5 separate regions of the Homo sapiens genome follow, and all the other regions are linked to region 5. Evidence: promoter capture Hi-C in 16 types of primary human blood cells and fetal thymus (Javierre and others, 2016). All regions are on one chromosome and are shown on one strand. The core of a region is centred on a gene start or on the middle of the fragment in contact, and the rest is flanking DNA. Distances in the headings are between cores, read along the strand shown. Region 1 overlaps EP300 (EP300 lysine acetyltransferase). Region 2 overlaps ADSL (adenylosuccinate lyase). Region 3 overlaps MRTFA (myocardin related transcription factor A). Region 4 holds the start of CHADL (chondroadherin like). Region 5 holds the start of ST13 (ST13 Hsp70 interacting protein).

Evidence for each region. The method cuts DNA at HindIII sites, captures the fragments that hold promoters and counts their contacts. A CHiCAGO score of 5 or more calls a contact.
Region 1: a fragment that was not itself captured here is called in contact with the fragment with the promoter of ST13 in region 5 in 4 of 17 cell types (M2 macrophages, monocytes, M1 macrophages and 1 more); the score reaches 8.7 in M2 macrophages.
Region 2: a fragment that was not itself captured here is called in contact with the fragment with the promoter of ST13 in region 5 in 1 of 17 cell types (naive B cells); the score reaches 5.0 in naive B cells.
Region 3: a fragment that was not itself captured here is called in contact with the fragment with the promoter of ST13 in region 5 in 2 of 17 cell types (megakaryocytes and naive B cells); the score reaches 5.8 in megakaryocytes.
Region 4: a contact is called between the fragment with the promoter of CHADL here and the fragment with the promoter of ST13 in region 5, in 2 of 17 cell types (fetal thymus and M1 macrophages). The highest score is 23.5, in fetal thymus.

Annotation. Positions count from the first base shown.
Region 1 is chr22:41,147,419-41,150,118 of GRCh38, reverse strand. EP300 (EP300 lysine acetyltransferase) reads right to left here. Exons shown (of 31, transcript NM_001429.4): 12 at 2,173-2,282; 13 at 944-1,081; 14 at 1-358. Among named protein-coding and RNA genes, the nearest start is that of EP300-AS1, 49 kb to the left of the region's middle. The HindIII fragment of the contact is 4,498 bases long and covers 1-2,700 here.
Region 2 is chr22:40,365,594-40,368,293 of GRCh38, reverse strand. It overlaps ADSL (adenylosuccinate lyase), which reads right to left. Exons shown (of 13, transcript NM_000026.4): 13 at 1-1,858. The coding sequence ends at 1,772. Among named protein-coding and RNA genes, the nearest start is that of SGSM3, 3.6 kb to the left of the region's middle. The HindIII fragment of the contact is 1,399 bases long and covers 566-1,964 here.
Region 3 is chr22:40,435,276-40,437,975 of GRCh38, reverse strand. It overlaps MRTFA (myocardin related transcription factor A), which reads left to right. Exons shown (of 15, transcript NM_020831.6): 5 at 2,422-2,477. Among named protein-coding and RNA genes, the nearest start is that of SGSM3, 66 kb to the right of the region's middle. RefSeq lists enhancers at 946-995, 1,066-1,115, 1,236-1,365, 1,626-1,685. The HindIII fragment of the contact is 881 bases long and covers 992-1,872 here.
Region 4 is chr22:41,239,503-41,242,202 of GRCh38, reverse strand. CHADL (chondroadherin like) reads left to right here and starts at 1,272. Exons shown (of 6, transcript NM_138481.2): 1 at 1,272-1,329; 2 at 2,583-2,700. The coding sequence starts at 1,322. RefSeq lists enhancers at 668-1,168, 1,169-1,669. The HindIII fragment of the contact is 52,914 bases long and covers 1-2,700 here.
Region 5 is chr22:40,855,341-40,858,040 of GRCh38, reverse strand. ST13 (ST13 Hsp70 interacting protein) reads left to right here and starts at 1,402. Exons shown (of 12, transcript NM_003932.5): 1 at 1,402-1,610. The coding sequence starts at 1,501. XPNPEP3 (X-prolyl aminopeptidase 3) reads right to left here and starts at 893. Exons shown (of 10, transcript NM_022098.4): 1 at 796-893. The coding sequence starts at 859. RefSeq lists enhancers at 588-1,047, 1,058-1,277, 905-1,674. The HindIII fragment of the contact is 3,469 bases long and covers 247-2,700 here.

The sequences.
Region 1 (2,700 bases), core at 35-2,534, 290 kb before region 5:
GCTGCTGGGGCTGGTCAGCAGAAGGTGCAGCAGGAAGTGAAGGCTGCACTTGTTGGGGAAGTTGTGTTGTTGGTGGTGTAGGTGTCTGCCTTGGAGGGGGATGTAGAGCCTGGGACTGTGGCCCAGGTGGCATGGCAGGAGGTGTAGGAACAGGGGCTGGAATTGTTGTTGCTGGTGGCTGCTGAGCCCCTATGCTTGGGGGAGTATGGTGAGGGGTGGGGGTACGACTAGGTACAGGCGAGGGTGAATTCTGATGAAGAGCTGGTTGAGGAAGCTGGGGACAGTGAATGTGGCTCCCCTGAGACCCTGGAGGCATTATAGGAGAGTTCACCGGGCAGGAAGAACTAGACATTTGTGCCTGTTAAAATAAAAAACATAACAAGACAGCAATTCAGAACAGAATTAAGGAAATACTTACATAGGCATGATATATAAATTTAGGACACAAACTGATTAAACAAAGAGTAGCAATGTGTCTATTTCAAAATGTGTAAAATACCCTATTACTGGGCATGTATCTTTGGACAGCACCATCAAGATAGTACTTAACTAAAGAGACTTCAAACCATTCAGCAGAATGGCCTCAGCCACCGCAGAAAAATGGCAGAATTGAGTGCAGAGTGCTCTAGGGCCTGCCTATGCTCTTTTCAGCCAGATTTCCTTCTACATTGTGTTTAATTCTAAGATTTATTTTAAAGTGTTCACTAGTAAAAACAATTAAAACTATCCATTTAAATTATTTCCTACTTTGTAACAATTAACACCATTGCTATGTCACAGAATAATCTCTTCATGTTCAGAATACCCTAAGTCCAAAATTGTTATTTTTTAAAAAATCATCTGTTTTCACCCACTATTTGCTGCCACTCTCTCCTATAAAAACCTACATCAAGAGAAGTTTCAAGAATCAAAAATAAGTGAAAAATCCACTTATGAGACATACTTGAGACACTGGAGCTTGACCGCTGGACGGAGCCAAAGGGATATTTGTTACATTCATTCCCTGTGATGGGAACTGAGTCTGAGGAAGGAACTGGCCCTGGTTGGAAGGCTGTTGCATACGAGGCCCATAGCCCATAGGCTGAAAAAAAAAAAAAACACAAATCACCAAACTGCTTCATTATAGTTATTCTACTATAACTAAAATCATCAAATGCTCCTAACGTCAGGCTTATTAAGTAGAGAAAAGCCAAAGACAGGAGTATAGGTGAAGAGGGCTGAAGAGGAGAAGGAAGAAAGTTGTAGAACAACTGACTCTTGTGCCAAGATAAAGAGAAATAGCCTCACAGTTTACCTAGGCCTACTCCAAGAAATAGTAAGAGGATGGAACACACATTCTCTTGGTACACAAATATGCCTAGCACAAGGATAGCAGGTAATTTTCTTTGCATGCTCTGTTAAGTGAGGAGAGTTAATCACAATTTCATGAGGTCATGTCAGTGATGTAATAACACAAATTCTAAGACCCATAATATGTAAAAACAAGAAAATCTTACAAGTTGTAGCAGAATCTGGTAGCATTCATGGTCCACAAATGCTCTAGCACTGTTACATGTCATTTCCAAAATTACCCTACACAAATTCAGGCCTTAAAGAAAGAAATCTCGAGTACCAAAGGCCAAAAACTTCATAAGCTAAGACCATCTGTCTTATAGGTTAAAATGAAGGACAGAACTCCCTGTTGAAAATGGCAGATTAGTGAGAAGTAGTAATGCTCAGGAACCCCCAAAAGGGTCAAGAATCAGAGGCACCAGCTAACTCTAAAGGGCAGCAGGAGGGTTAGGGTCAAGGTAGAGAGATGGACTGGTTAAGAGTTCGCATAAGGAGCAGGAGAAGCCTAGTCTCTCTTCTCCGAGTTCAAGAACCAGGCAAAAACGCACCATCAACCTTGCAAGACAGTTCTCTGCCTGGAGGAGGGAAGACAGACATCAGGGAAGAGAAGTGACCGTGAAAACGCATGCAGGCCACTAAACACTGACACTCCAGGGACAAGGGACTGGCTGTTTTCGTTTTTTGGTCAGCTTTCTAGTAGAGTTAAATACAGAAGAATTACAGAAGAACTAGGAGTTATGGTCTGTTTAAATGACTGTGAGAATTTATAAAGTAGGAACAAACAGGATTTTCAAAATACCAGGTAAAGGCCAAAGAGATTACCAAAGACGTCAAACTAACCGGGTTGAGAGCTCCAGGTTGAGCCAACTGTCCATGGTGCTGAAGAGGAGGGGTTTGCCGGGGTACAATAGGGGGCTGGGCCATGCTCATCTGGCCAAATTGATTCAAACCTGTGAATATGAGCAAAATGTTAGATCTGAATGCCTTTGTGAAATTGAATAATAAAAGATAGAATTCTTATGTCTGATTCTGTATCTTTTTTTTTTTTTGAGACGGAGTCTTGCTCTGTCGCCCAGGCTGGAGTGCAGTGGCGCAATCTCCGCTCACTGCAAGCTCTGCCACCTGGGTTCACACCATTCTCCTGCCTCAGCCTCCTGAGTAGCTGGGACTACAGGCGTCCGCCACCACACCCAGCTAATTTTTTGTATTTTTAGTAGAGACGGGGGTTTCACTGTGTTAGCCAGGATGGTCTCTATCTCCTGACCTTGTGATCTGCCCGCCTCAGCCTCCCAAAGTGCTGGGATTACAGGCGTGAGCCACCGCACCTGGCCCTGATTCTATCAGGACTAATAAACTGGCTTTCAACCT
Region 2 (2,700 bases), core at 16-2,515, 490 kb after region 5:
ACGAGGCAGTCTTCCAGCTTCTGCCTGACCTGGGGGATTGAGTGTAGGTTGCTAATCTCAGTGGTTCCAATGTCTGGCCCCAAGCCAGTCTCAGTAATGGGTATTGAGCTCAGTGTGTCTCTTGGGGCAACACACAATCAAGTCACTCTTCCTGCACCTGGCAATATTTGAAGTGCCGAGGAGTTTTCTTCTGTATAGGATAAAGAGCCCTAACATTCCTCCACCACAAGATCTTTTTGGAGGTTGGCTCTCCAGTTCATCTCTATTCCTCAGACTGGGTATCCAAAATTGAATGTAATGCCAAGAGTGCGGAGCAGTAAGCCTCTGGTGGCTTTTTGGGCACTGGACAACCATTAACACCTCCTAAAACAGTCTTCTCTCAGTTCTGGTGCATACTGAGTTTAAGATTAACTTATTTACATTGATCTTTATTAACTTTTTCCTCTAGTTTAGGACACATCATTTCAGCCGATTTAGGTTAGAGATGAAAACTTATTTTACCAAATAAACATACTTGTTAATTCTCCCAGTTTTGTGTCATCTGCAAATCTGATAAACAAAAGCTTTCATTTTCATCTATGCCGAAAAATATGTAGGATGAGAATGGGCTAAATAACACTAGTGCTCTCCTGGCAGGTAGGTAATTAACTCAATCTTTGGCTACAGTTGCTTCAATCAGCTATAAATCCATGCAACAAGGAAGTCGGGCGCAGTGGCAGAAGCTGGAAGACTGCCTAGTTGCCAAGTATCTGATGTGCTCTTGCTATTGGAAATACAACAAGGAATGACACAGACAACGTTCTTGTCCAATGGCACTTGCTTACACTGTAAACAAGTAAAAAAAGAAAACAAGATTAGGCTGGGTGTGGTGGCTCATGTCTATAATCCCAGAACTTTGGGAGGCTGAGATGGGCGGATCACTTGAGGTCAGGAGTTCAAGACCAGCCCGCCCAACATGGCAAAACTCCATCCCGTCTAAAAATACAAAAATTAGCCAGGCATGGCGGCAGGCGCCTGTAATCCCAGCTACTTGGGAGGCTGAGGCTGGAGAATCGCTTGAACCTGAGAGGCGGAGGTTGCAGTGAGCCAAGATTGTGCTACTGCACTCTAGTCTGGGTGACAGAGCAAGCCTCAACAACAAAATCCATGCAACAAGGAATAAAGACTGTCAGCGGCCCTGATGAAATCAATATACTCAATTAGCATTTCCCTGCTGTATAAGCCTTATCAAAAGATGAAATGAGCTTGGGCACAACTTCAGCTCAATCAGCCTGATGGTCACATCAGGGTTTGGTTCTTTTTTTTTTTTTTTTTAAGTATTTACTGTAGTTCCAAACTTCATCACTTATACTAGCCAAAAATAACCGAAATAAAAGGTATCTGACCATTGACTCAATCACTGAGTCCAGGTTATTTTGCTAGACCTAGATCAAATTCACTTTTAGAAGACAGGACCAGAAATTTCTTGCTACTTTACAAGCAAATGAACACGTGAAAAGGACTAAACTTGAGGCAGCTGGAAAATATGCCTTGAAAGAACAGAGATCAAGTATGAACTACATTTACTATGCAAGAGCAGAGTCAACTTCAACGCTCTTTGTTTTTGCCTTGTTGAGAAATGTGAGACTGAGAAACAGGAAAGCACCATGGGAAGAAGAAAGTGCTGTACTAATTTAAGGTAACAATTCTCGAGGTAAAATAAGGCATTATAGTAACACAATTTTCATGCCTCAGCAATTAACAATGATTTTCGTTTAATTCTCTTCCAACTCTACAGACATAATTCTGCTTTCACCTTCATCACGCTTTCATATGGTTTTAACAGGGGATACACCTCCTCTTCTAAGAATCTCTGCACCTGCCAGAGGAAAGCAAATACAAGACAAAAGAAAATGTTAAGATATTAGCAGATAATACCTTTTCCAATGTCAGGGGATACCACTGAAACCTAATTTGATGAAGCTTTTACTCCAACACTGAGCTTGTTTTCCTCAACTGCCTATCAGGAATTTCTGCCTAGACACAGATGATTCAACCACCATGCCCACATGCTCACCAACCTTTCCCGCAAACTGGCCCAGCCTGTGTTCTCTCAGGTGGTTTCACCATTTCCATCCAACCTAAAAATCACCACAGCTTCTTTCCTCCTGCTTCCCAGCCCTCTTCAAGTAGCCACCAAGAGCTTAACCTCCTCTCCCTCCCCGGTCTGTGTCTCTCACCACTGCCTTCACTCAAGCTCTCATCATCTACTGCTTGGCCCGTTGCAGTAGCCTCCTTATTGGTCTCCTACCTCCAGTTTTAGTCTTTTAGCCCTCAGTCCTTGCACGTACTGCTTGGTATCATAATGACCTATTTACAAGTATTCACCACTAAGTTTTGAGCTCTCTGAAGATGAGGATTATCTATTCATCTTTGTATTTTTTTTAAGACAGGATCTCATTTTGTCACCCAAGCCAGAGGGCAAGGGAATGAATATGGCTCACTGCAGCCTTGACCTCCTAGGCTCAAGCTATCCTCCCGCCTCAGCCCTGAGTAGCAGAGACTACAGGCGCACACCACCACACCTGGCTAATTTTTGTATTTTTTTGTAGAGACAAGGTTTCACCATGTTGCCCAGGATGTTCTTGAACTCCTGAGCTCAAGCAATCCTCCTGCCTCGGCCTCCCAAAATGCTAGGATTACTGGTGTGAGCCACTGCGC
Region 3 (2,700 bases), core at 183-2,682, 420 kb after region 5:
TCTTACAGAATACTCACTAATTCATCGAGTGAATAATTATTGAGGGTATACTGTGTGCCTGGTATTCTAGGCACTTGGGGAATGCTGTGAGTGACTAAAAAAATAGACAAAACCCTTGCTGTGCTCTGATGGGGACATGTTGTAAATGTAAACGTGGGAGACTGAGAGTAAACAAGAAAAGTATGTAGTATTCCGCCTTTTTTTTTTTTTTTTGAGACGGAGTCTTGCTCTGTCTCCCAGGCTGGAGTGCAGTGGCACTATCTTGGCGCACTGCAACCTCTGCCTCCTGAGTTCAAGTGATTCTCCTGCCTCAGTCTCCTGAGTAGCTGGGATTACAGGCACCCTCTACCATGCCTGTACAAAAATGTTTGTATTTTTAGTAGAGACGGGGTTTCACCATGTTGGCCAGGCTCGTCTCGAACTCCTTACCTCATGATCTGCCCACCTCGGCTTCCCAAAGTGCTGGGATTGCAGGCGTGAGCCACCATGCCCAGCCAGATACGTAGTATTTATATAAAGACTGTCAAGACAGTGATGAGTGCTGCGGAGAAAAATGAGGCAGAAAAGGAAGCTGGGGTGGGGTGGACAGTGTCCGTTTTCTCTTGATTCTTTGTACTTACTGTCTCATGCATGTGCTAAGCTTTCCAAGAGCCAAGGTTACGTGTGATGCATCACACCCGGGTTCCTGCAGAGCAGGACGTTTGGAGTTGAGCTAGCGTTACACAGTAGAAGCAGGTGCAGGGGGTGTCTATTTACCCACTGAAATGCCCACGACCTGCCCATGTAAGAAGTGGGGAATCCTGGATAGTGCCCAGGTAGGTTGGGGAGGTAACTTGTACTGGTTTTTCTTTGATGTTATTTGTTAAATCTAGAGCTCCCCCTTCTGTTAGAAGATGGGATCTCAGTAGTACTTTTAAGACTGTAGTTTCTTTTTTATCTTAAGATTCACAAAAAATTTTTAAAAATAAATACCACTGGGACAATTGAAGCTTTCTTCTGGGACTGCTGTTGCTGAGGCCCAGCCCCCCGCTGGGGGTGGAGAGGAAGGAGGAAGAAGCACAACGGCCCAGGCAGGATAGGGTCCTATCTATGCTCTCTTGCTACTTTTAGCAGCTCCTTAACCCTGCACTCCTACCGCAGCCAGCAGCCTAGCAAAAGTTATCTCTGCTCGCAGTTTCACAGCTCTTTGGAAATTCTAGGGCAGGAGAAGTGAAACTGACCACAGTCTTATAAATTTCTCTCTTATTGCCTCTGTTCCCTACTTGAAGTGAGTCAGGCCTTTCCCTCTCATCCTCAGAGTGTCTTAAGTTGCTATTTGTCCTTACAGCCAAGTTTTTGACAAAAGGAGTCAGACCTTCCATTCATGGTGCAGCCTTTCTGGAGGCTCTTGGTTTGGTCTTGCCACCTGAGTGTTGTTTGCAGAAGTCGAGACTTGTGGTCTTTGTGTGGTATCCCCAGAATAGAGCTGAGCCCTTCGTCTCAGCTGTCGGTTGTGTGTGTTCCTTCACATACAATTGCCATGGGGTTCTTTTAGTCCTTAGAGATGAAATTCAAGTTAATTTTAGCAGCACTATAAATAACAGGTGCAGTGAAGAAGGAAATAGTGCCGAGTGGACATATATCTTTTTGGTTTTAACTGTCCCATTGAAACAGTTTGGCCACTTTATGATTCCTCGTGAGGTTGAGGAAGTAAGGTTAATTTGGCATGCATCTGTGCCCCTTCCTGTGTGCAGGTGTCCTGAGAATAATGTGAGGCCTAGCAGGCGTTCTTGGAGTCCTAGCTGAAGGGGGATTTGCGGCTGACGGTCCAGTCATGGGCCAGGGTGTTTGTTAAAGTTACATTCCATGGGTGCACTTTATATAGCCCAAGCTTAGGCAGTGACAGTTCCCATTAGGAGTCATATTTTGGTTTCTACCAAAACTGTTTGAATGGGGTAGCTAAACCATAAAGATACATGCTTACTCAGGTGTCATTGCCTTCACTTCAACTGATATTTATAGTACTACTAACAGTAATGTGATTTTTTTTTTTTTTTTTTGGGGGACGGTTTCTCGCTCTGTTGCCCAGGCTAGAGTGCAGTGGCGCAATCTCGGCTTACTGCAAGCTCTGCCTCCCAGGTTCACGCCATTCTCCTGCCTCAGCCTCCCTTGTAGCTGGGACTTCAGGCGCCCACCACCACCACGCCTGGCTAATTTTTTGTATTTTTAGTAGAGACAGGGTTTCACCATGTTAGCCAGGATGGTCTCGATCTCCTGACCTCGTGATCTGCCTGCCTCAGCCTCCCAAAGTGTTGGGATTACAGGCGTGAGCCACCACGCCCAGCCAGTAACATGAATTTAAGATGCCTTCTCCACTGAATATCGTAGCACTAGACATGATGCTTCGCTTGAAGGTAATCTTTACGGTTCTTCTCTCAACAGCTTTGAAAAGTCCAGCCGCATTTCATGAGCAGAGAAGGAGCTTGGAGCGGGCCAGGGTAAGGTACCTTTTTTCCCCCTCAGAACTCCCAAAGAGCATTTTCAGAGCTCATTGCATTGCTGGTTATATTTCCATTTAGAGCTTTCCATAGAACTCTGAGGCCAGAGCCTGCTAGACTCTAGGGCCAGCCCTGGCCTTGTGGTTTTAAATGGAAAGCTCTGCTTCTCCTACTTCATCCCTTCTCTCATTTACCTCCCATGGTGATTATATGGAACATGATT
Region 4 (2,700 bases), core at 23-2,522, 380 kb before region 5:
CACACATACATATATATATATATATATATATATATATATATATATATATATATATATATGTATATATTTTTTTTCTTTTTTGAGACAGTTTCACTCTGTTGCCCAGGCTAGAGTGCAGTGGCGCCATCTCGGCTCTCGCGTTCATGCCATTTGCCTGCCTCAGCCTCCCAAGTAGCTGGGACTACAGGCGCCTGCCACCACACCCGGCTAATTTTTTGTACTTTTAGTAGAGATAGGGTTTCACTGTGTTAGCCAGGATGGTCTTGATCTCGACCTCGTGATCCACCCGCCTCCGCCTCCCAAAGTGCTGGGATTACAGGCGTGAGCCACCGCGCCCGGCCTTTTTTTTTTCTCTTGAGACAGAGTCTGTGTTGCCCAGGCTGGTCTCAAACTCCTGGGCTCAAGTGATCCTCCCACCTCAGCCTCCCAAAGTGCTGGGATTACAGGCATGAGCCACTGTGCCTGACCCCTGTTTCCAATTAAAGGAACAAACAGTAGAAGATGCAATTCCATCAGAAGCAGGAATCTGAAAAATCAAGATACATGAACATTGGCCATGGTCTGGATGTATTATTTAAAAAACAAACACGAGCTTGGGAAGATGCGTATTTGGATATTCTTTGCAATATTGTTTGTAAATAGCAAAAAATTGGAGGTAGCCAATGTCCAAGATGAATGGCTAAGTCAATGTGATACATTTACACAATGGAATACTATATACCACAGAATAATGAGATTCGGAAGAGTCAATTTGGATAACTCCCAGTAATCTGAGGTTAAGTGAAAAAAATGAGTGTCTAGAATCCTGTGTGTCCAGTATTAAACTATTTATGTCAATGTGTAAGCACAAACGGAAGGAAAGGGTCACCTGTTCTGAAGCACCCACTGTGTGCCAGGTGCGGGCCTGAACCCCCACTGTGACCTCAGAGCTACTTATTAATGGGATGTGTTTTTCAGAGACTAGGAAGCAGCCTCTGGGAGGGCAGCCCACATGGCAGGAGGGAGCCCAGGACTGCTGACTCCCGGGCCAGCTGCTGGTGCCCCCTCCCTGTCGGGCTGGCCCAAGGATTCAGGCCGGGGCCTCAGTCCTCGGCTGGGGCAGGCAGGAGGCCCTGTAACTCCAGCCGCTGCTCCCGCCCGCCGCCCGCCCCTTCTTCACCTCAGCCTGGGGAAGCCTGGCTTGCCTGGTCTGCCGACAATGCCTCCCATTCAGCCCTGTCCCAGCTGCCAGGCCTGCGGGCCGTGGAGGGGGGCTCCTGCCAGGCGGGGACAGCCTGTCCCTGCGCTGCGCCTCCAGGCTGGACCAGCAGTTCCAGGCGGCATGGAGGGGTGAGTCTTTGGGCCCGATGGTGCAAGGGGGGATTCAGAGCAGCTCAGTGGCCTCAGGTAAGTCTCTGCCCCCTCTGGGCCTCTCAGAGGCTGGCGGGCAGGGGCTCTGGGGACTTCCTGGGGTTCTCCAGGAAGGGGGTCTCCCAAGGTGGGCTCTGAGACACGTGGCAATGTGGCCACTGCCAGGAACTGGTCCTCTGGGGCTTGTCTGAGAGCCCAGCAGTGGTCCCTGCATTATGAATGCTTGTCGCTTCAGCGATCTGTCCCCATGGGTCCCCTCCCTGGCCTGCCCTGAGGCACAGCCTTCACCACAGGCTCTGGAGAAGCCACCAACTCCAACGCAGGGGCTGGAGCCTGGGACCCAAAGGAGACTCCAAAACAGACGATAGTCCAGTGAGCAGCGAGGGGGAGGCTCCTGGGGGCCGGGGAACAGCCCAGCGATGGGGGAGAGGCCATGCCTGACACAGGCTGAGAACAGAGGGGCCAGCTGGGCAGGGGAGGTGATCTATCATCCTAGCGCTTTGGGAGGCCAAGGTGGGACAATCACTTGAGGCCAGGAGTTCAAGACCAGCCCGGGCAACATAGCGAGACCCTGTCTCTACCAGAAGTAATTAAAAAATTAGCCAGGCGTGGTGGTGTGTGCCTGTAGTCCCAGCTACTCAAGAGGCTGAGGTGAGAGGATCACTTTAGCCCAGGAGGTGAAGGCTGCAGTAAGCCATAGTCATTCCACTGCACTCCAGACTCCAGCCTGGGCAACAGAGCAAGGCTTGTCTCTATTTAAACAAACAAACAAAAAAAGACTCAAGGACCCGGACTGGATGCCTCCCTCCTTTCTGGGGGGTACCATTATGCTCCTGCCACCTGGGAGCTGGCATCATATCAGTCTGAGGACAGGCTGCTTCCGAGCCTACCCTGGACCAGAGCCTCACCACAGCCTGAGAACATGCTCTGAACTGGAGTCATTCTCACAGTCAGCAAGTCCTCACTGAGCCATTGGGCAGAGGCAAAGGGACTAACCAGGTCACTTTTCTGAGCCTCGGTTTCCTCCCATGTAAAACAGGACTAATCATAGGACCTCCACTGCGTGGGGGGTGGGGGGCAGGGAGGCTCAGGGTGATTGGCACTTTCCTGGGCCCAAAGGAGGAGGCTCTGAGGGGTTTTTGGGGCAGGAGCTGCACCATGGCTGGGACTAAGTGAGGGACAGCATGTGGCCTCGGCCCTTGTGCACAACAGACTCTCCCTCCCCGTCCCAGGCCCCGGAGCTCCACCCATGTCCCCTTGGTGCTGCCGCTTCTTGTACTTCTGCTGCTGGCCCCGGCTAGGCAGGCCGCCGCCCAGCGCTGCCCACAGGCCTGCATCTGTGACAACTCC
Region 5 (2,700 bases), core at 153-2,652:
AAGAACAAGTTCTGTGCACTGGACAATAACTTTTTATTTTTTATAGTAAGAAGTCGATGTAATTAACATTCCATTTTAAATGAATTCAAGTATATCAACATAAACATATGCCAAGACATAGCTTTGATGTCAAATACCATACGTTCTGGTTCACACATTGTTCATATATTGACCCAAAAAACTGAAATACGATCCAATGGCAGATCCGCCTGCAAGGAAGGTGATTCAGTTTTCACTGATTAAGCTTTATGTTCATCAGATTAATTGCTCGCAATAGAGGACACCCTACAAAAAATTATTCTCCTTATCCTTCGTCTTGTCTTTGCAAACAGGACTTTCAGACACAGAACGCCCCAGAAGTATTTCGAAACAGTTACCTCTCCTAAGAGGAGCTGCTGAAAGAATTTGTTACTAAACATGCTTCGTGTATATTCTGGAGCAAGCTCTCACGCCTAACAGAAACAAGAGCTACTTGATGTGAGACACTTTGTCACTTAAGTGTGATAATTGCCACAACTTCGGAGTCCGAGTAACTTGGAAGACAGCCCCTCTGGGGGATGGCACACTTTTCTCTCTGCAGTCATTTCGGCTTCACAAAATACCTCAACGGTAGAGAACACACTGGGCCCACCCCTTTCCAGGAGCAGCCGGTATAGAAGAAATCCGCGGAGCACAGAGGGTTGGGGAGCGGAGGCCCCACCAGGAGAAGGGTCAGCCGAACCAGGGATCGCCTGAGACCAACTTGGGTCCCTCCAGGGGACACCATGGGAGGAGACCGTGGGAGAAGAGTCTAACCTGAGAGGCCGCGGACGTTTGCTACAGCGGGAACCAGCTTGGGGGCTGAGAGCAGCCAAGGCATTACGGCCTAACTCACGCGTCGGGAAGAGAAAGAGGGTAACGACGGGGAACGCAACCGCCTGCAGGGCCGCGTCGCCAGGAAACCGGGCCAGCCGCACCTCCCCTTCCGGCGGAGGCGGCTCGCGGGCCTTCCTTGCGCGGCGGCGCAGGTTGTGACGTCATGCCCCGAGCTGGGACCGACCCTCCGGCTCCACGCCCTTTTTTTTTTTTTTTTTTAGGTCCCGGGCGTTGAGCTCTACTCAGTGCACGCAGCCACACAATATGCTCTTGGACGTCGCCCCCTGGAGGGGATGTTATCTCCCGCCTCCTTGAAGTCGCCCATTTCTGGGGTTGCCCCATCCAGGGAGCTGGTTCCTAGTTAAGAATATGAGAATGTATGCGCAGGGAGGCAGGCAACAGCACGAACAGCCACGCTTCTAGAAGATTCTAGGGAGCGCGCAGGAGCAGCGCAGAGGGAGTAGGAATGAGCAGGCGGAGGACCCGAGGTCACGAGACCGTTGGGTGGGAGGAGCCAGCGGCCGGGGAGGTTCTAGTCTGTTCTGTCTTGCGGCAGCCGCCCCCTTCTGCGCGGTCACGCCGAGCCAGCGCCTGGGCCTGGAACCGGGCCGTAGCCCCCCCAGTTTCGCCCACCACCTCCCTACCATGGACCCCCGCAAAGTGAACGAGCTTCGGGCCTTTGTGAAAATGTGTAAGCAGGATCCGAGCGTTCTGCACACCGAGGAAATGCGCTTCCTGAGGGAGTGGGTGGAGAGGTGAGACCCAGGCCTGAGGACCGTTGGGGGCGGGGGAAGCACGGCCCCAGGGGGGAGCCAGGCTGGACCTGGCTCGGTCCGGCGGGCGAGGCGGGGTCGCTGCCCCTTCTTTGCCCGGGAAAGGGAGGCAACTTCGAGGGGTCATGGAAGATCGCGAGCCTTGGGTAGTACAGGAGCCGCGGGGAGCAGGAGGCAGAGCTGGGTTCCTCGCACCCTGAGGTTGCCCAGGGGTGTATCTTGGGCGAAATACAAAAACAGGACTGCGGATGCGTGGACACTGGAGACGCGAGGAGTGAAAACTGCAAGACTTAGATTTTGCGTGGGGTTGTTTTTCTTTCAGTCTTGTGTGCCCTGCTCAGGTCTCATTGGTACATAGCAGTTCCTTTACGCACTATTCCTTTACGTCGTGTTATAATAATATAACACTAGTAAGTTAAAAGTTACAAAACTAGTAAGAATAAAAATGATAACTGTAAAAATGATTGTTTTTACCTTACAGCGTTTGTAGCTGCGTAGGATTAATTATCTTGAGAATCACTTATTATACCTCCGTTACTTGGCAGTGTTATCACTCCAAACACGTCTGAGAAAAATAATTTCTTAAGGCCTGGCATGTTTCCAGGATATAATCTTGTTGTCTTTAACTGTAGAGTACTTCGCTACGTGCAAGGAGTTAATTGACAAGGCATTGTGCCTGGTGCTAGGAAACAGTATAAGTACTGTCTATTTAGACGAATAAATAGAAAAGTTCGTTTTGATATTTACTATATAATAGTAATTAGCATTTTATGTGTTGAAGGAGCACCGAAGAGAAAAAGTGACAGGGAAGTCTTCCCTAAGATGACTTTTTAAAAAATTATTACTAATGGGGAACTGAAAAGATGACATACAAATTGCACTAAACAGGGATAAATAGCAACTATGCAGACCATTGCGACTCCTAAGAGGTGCTGCTGTGAACGTTATGTGTTTAGTGACTTTTGTCTTTTAGAGACAGGGTTTGGCTGTATTGTCCAGGCCGCATACAGTGGCGGGATCACTGCAGCCTCCAATTCCTGGGCACAAGCGATCCTCCTGCATCAGTCTCCCA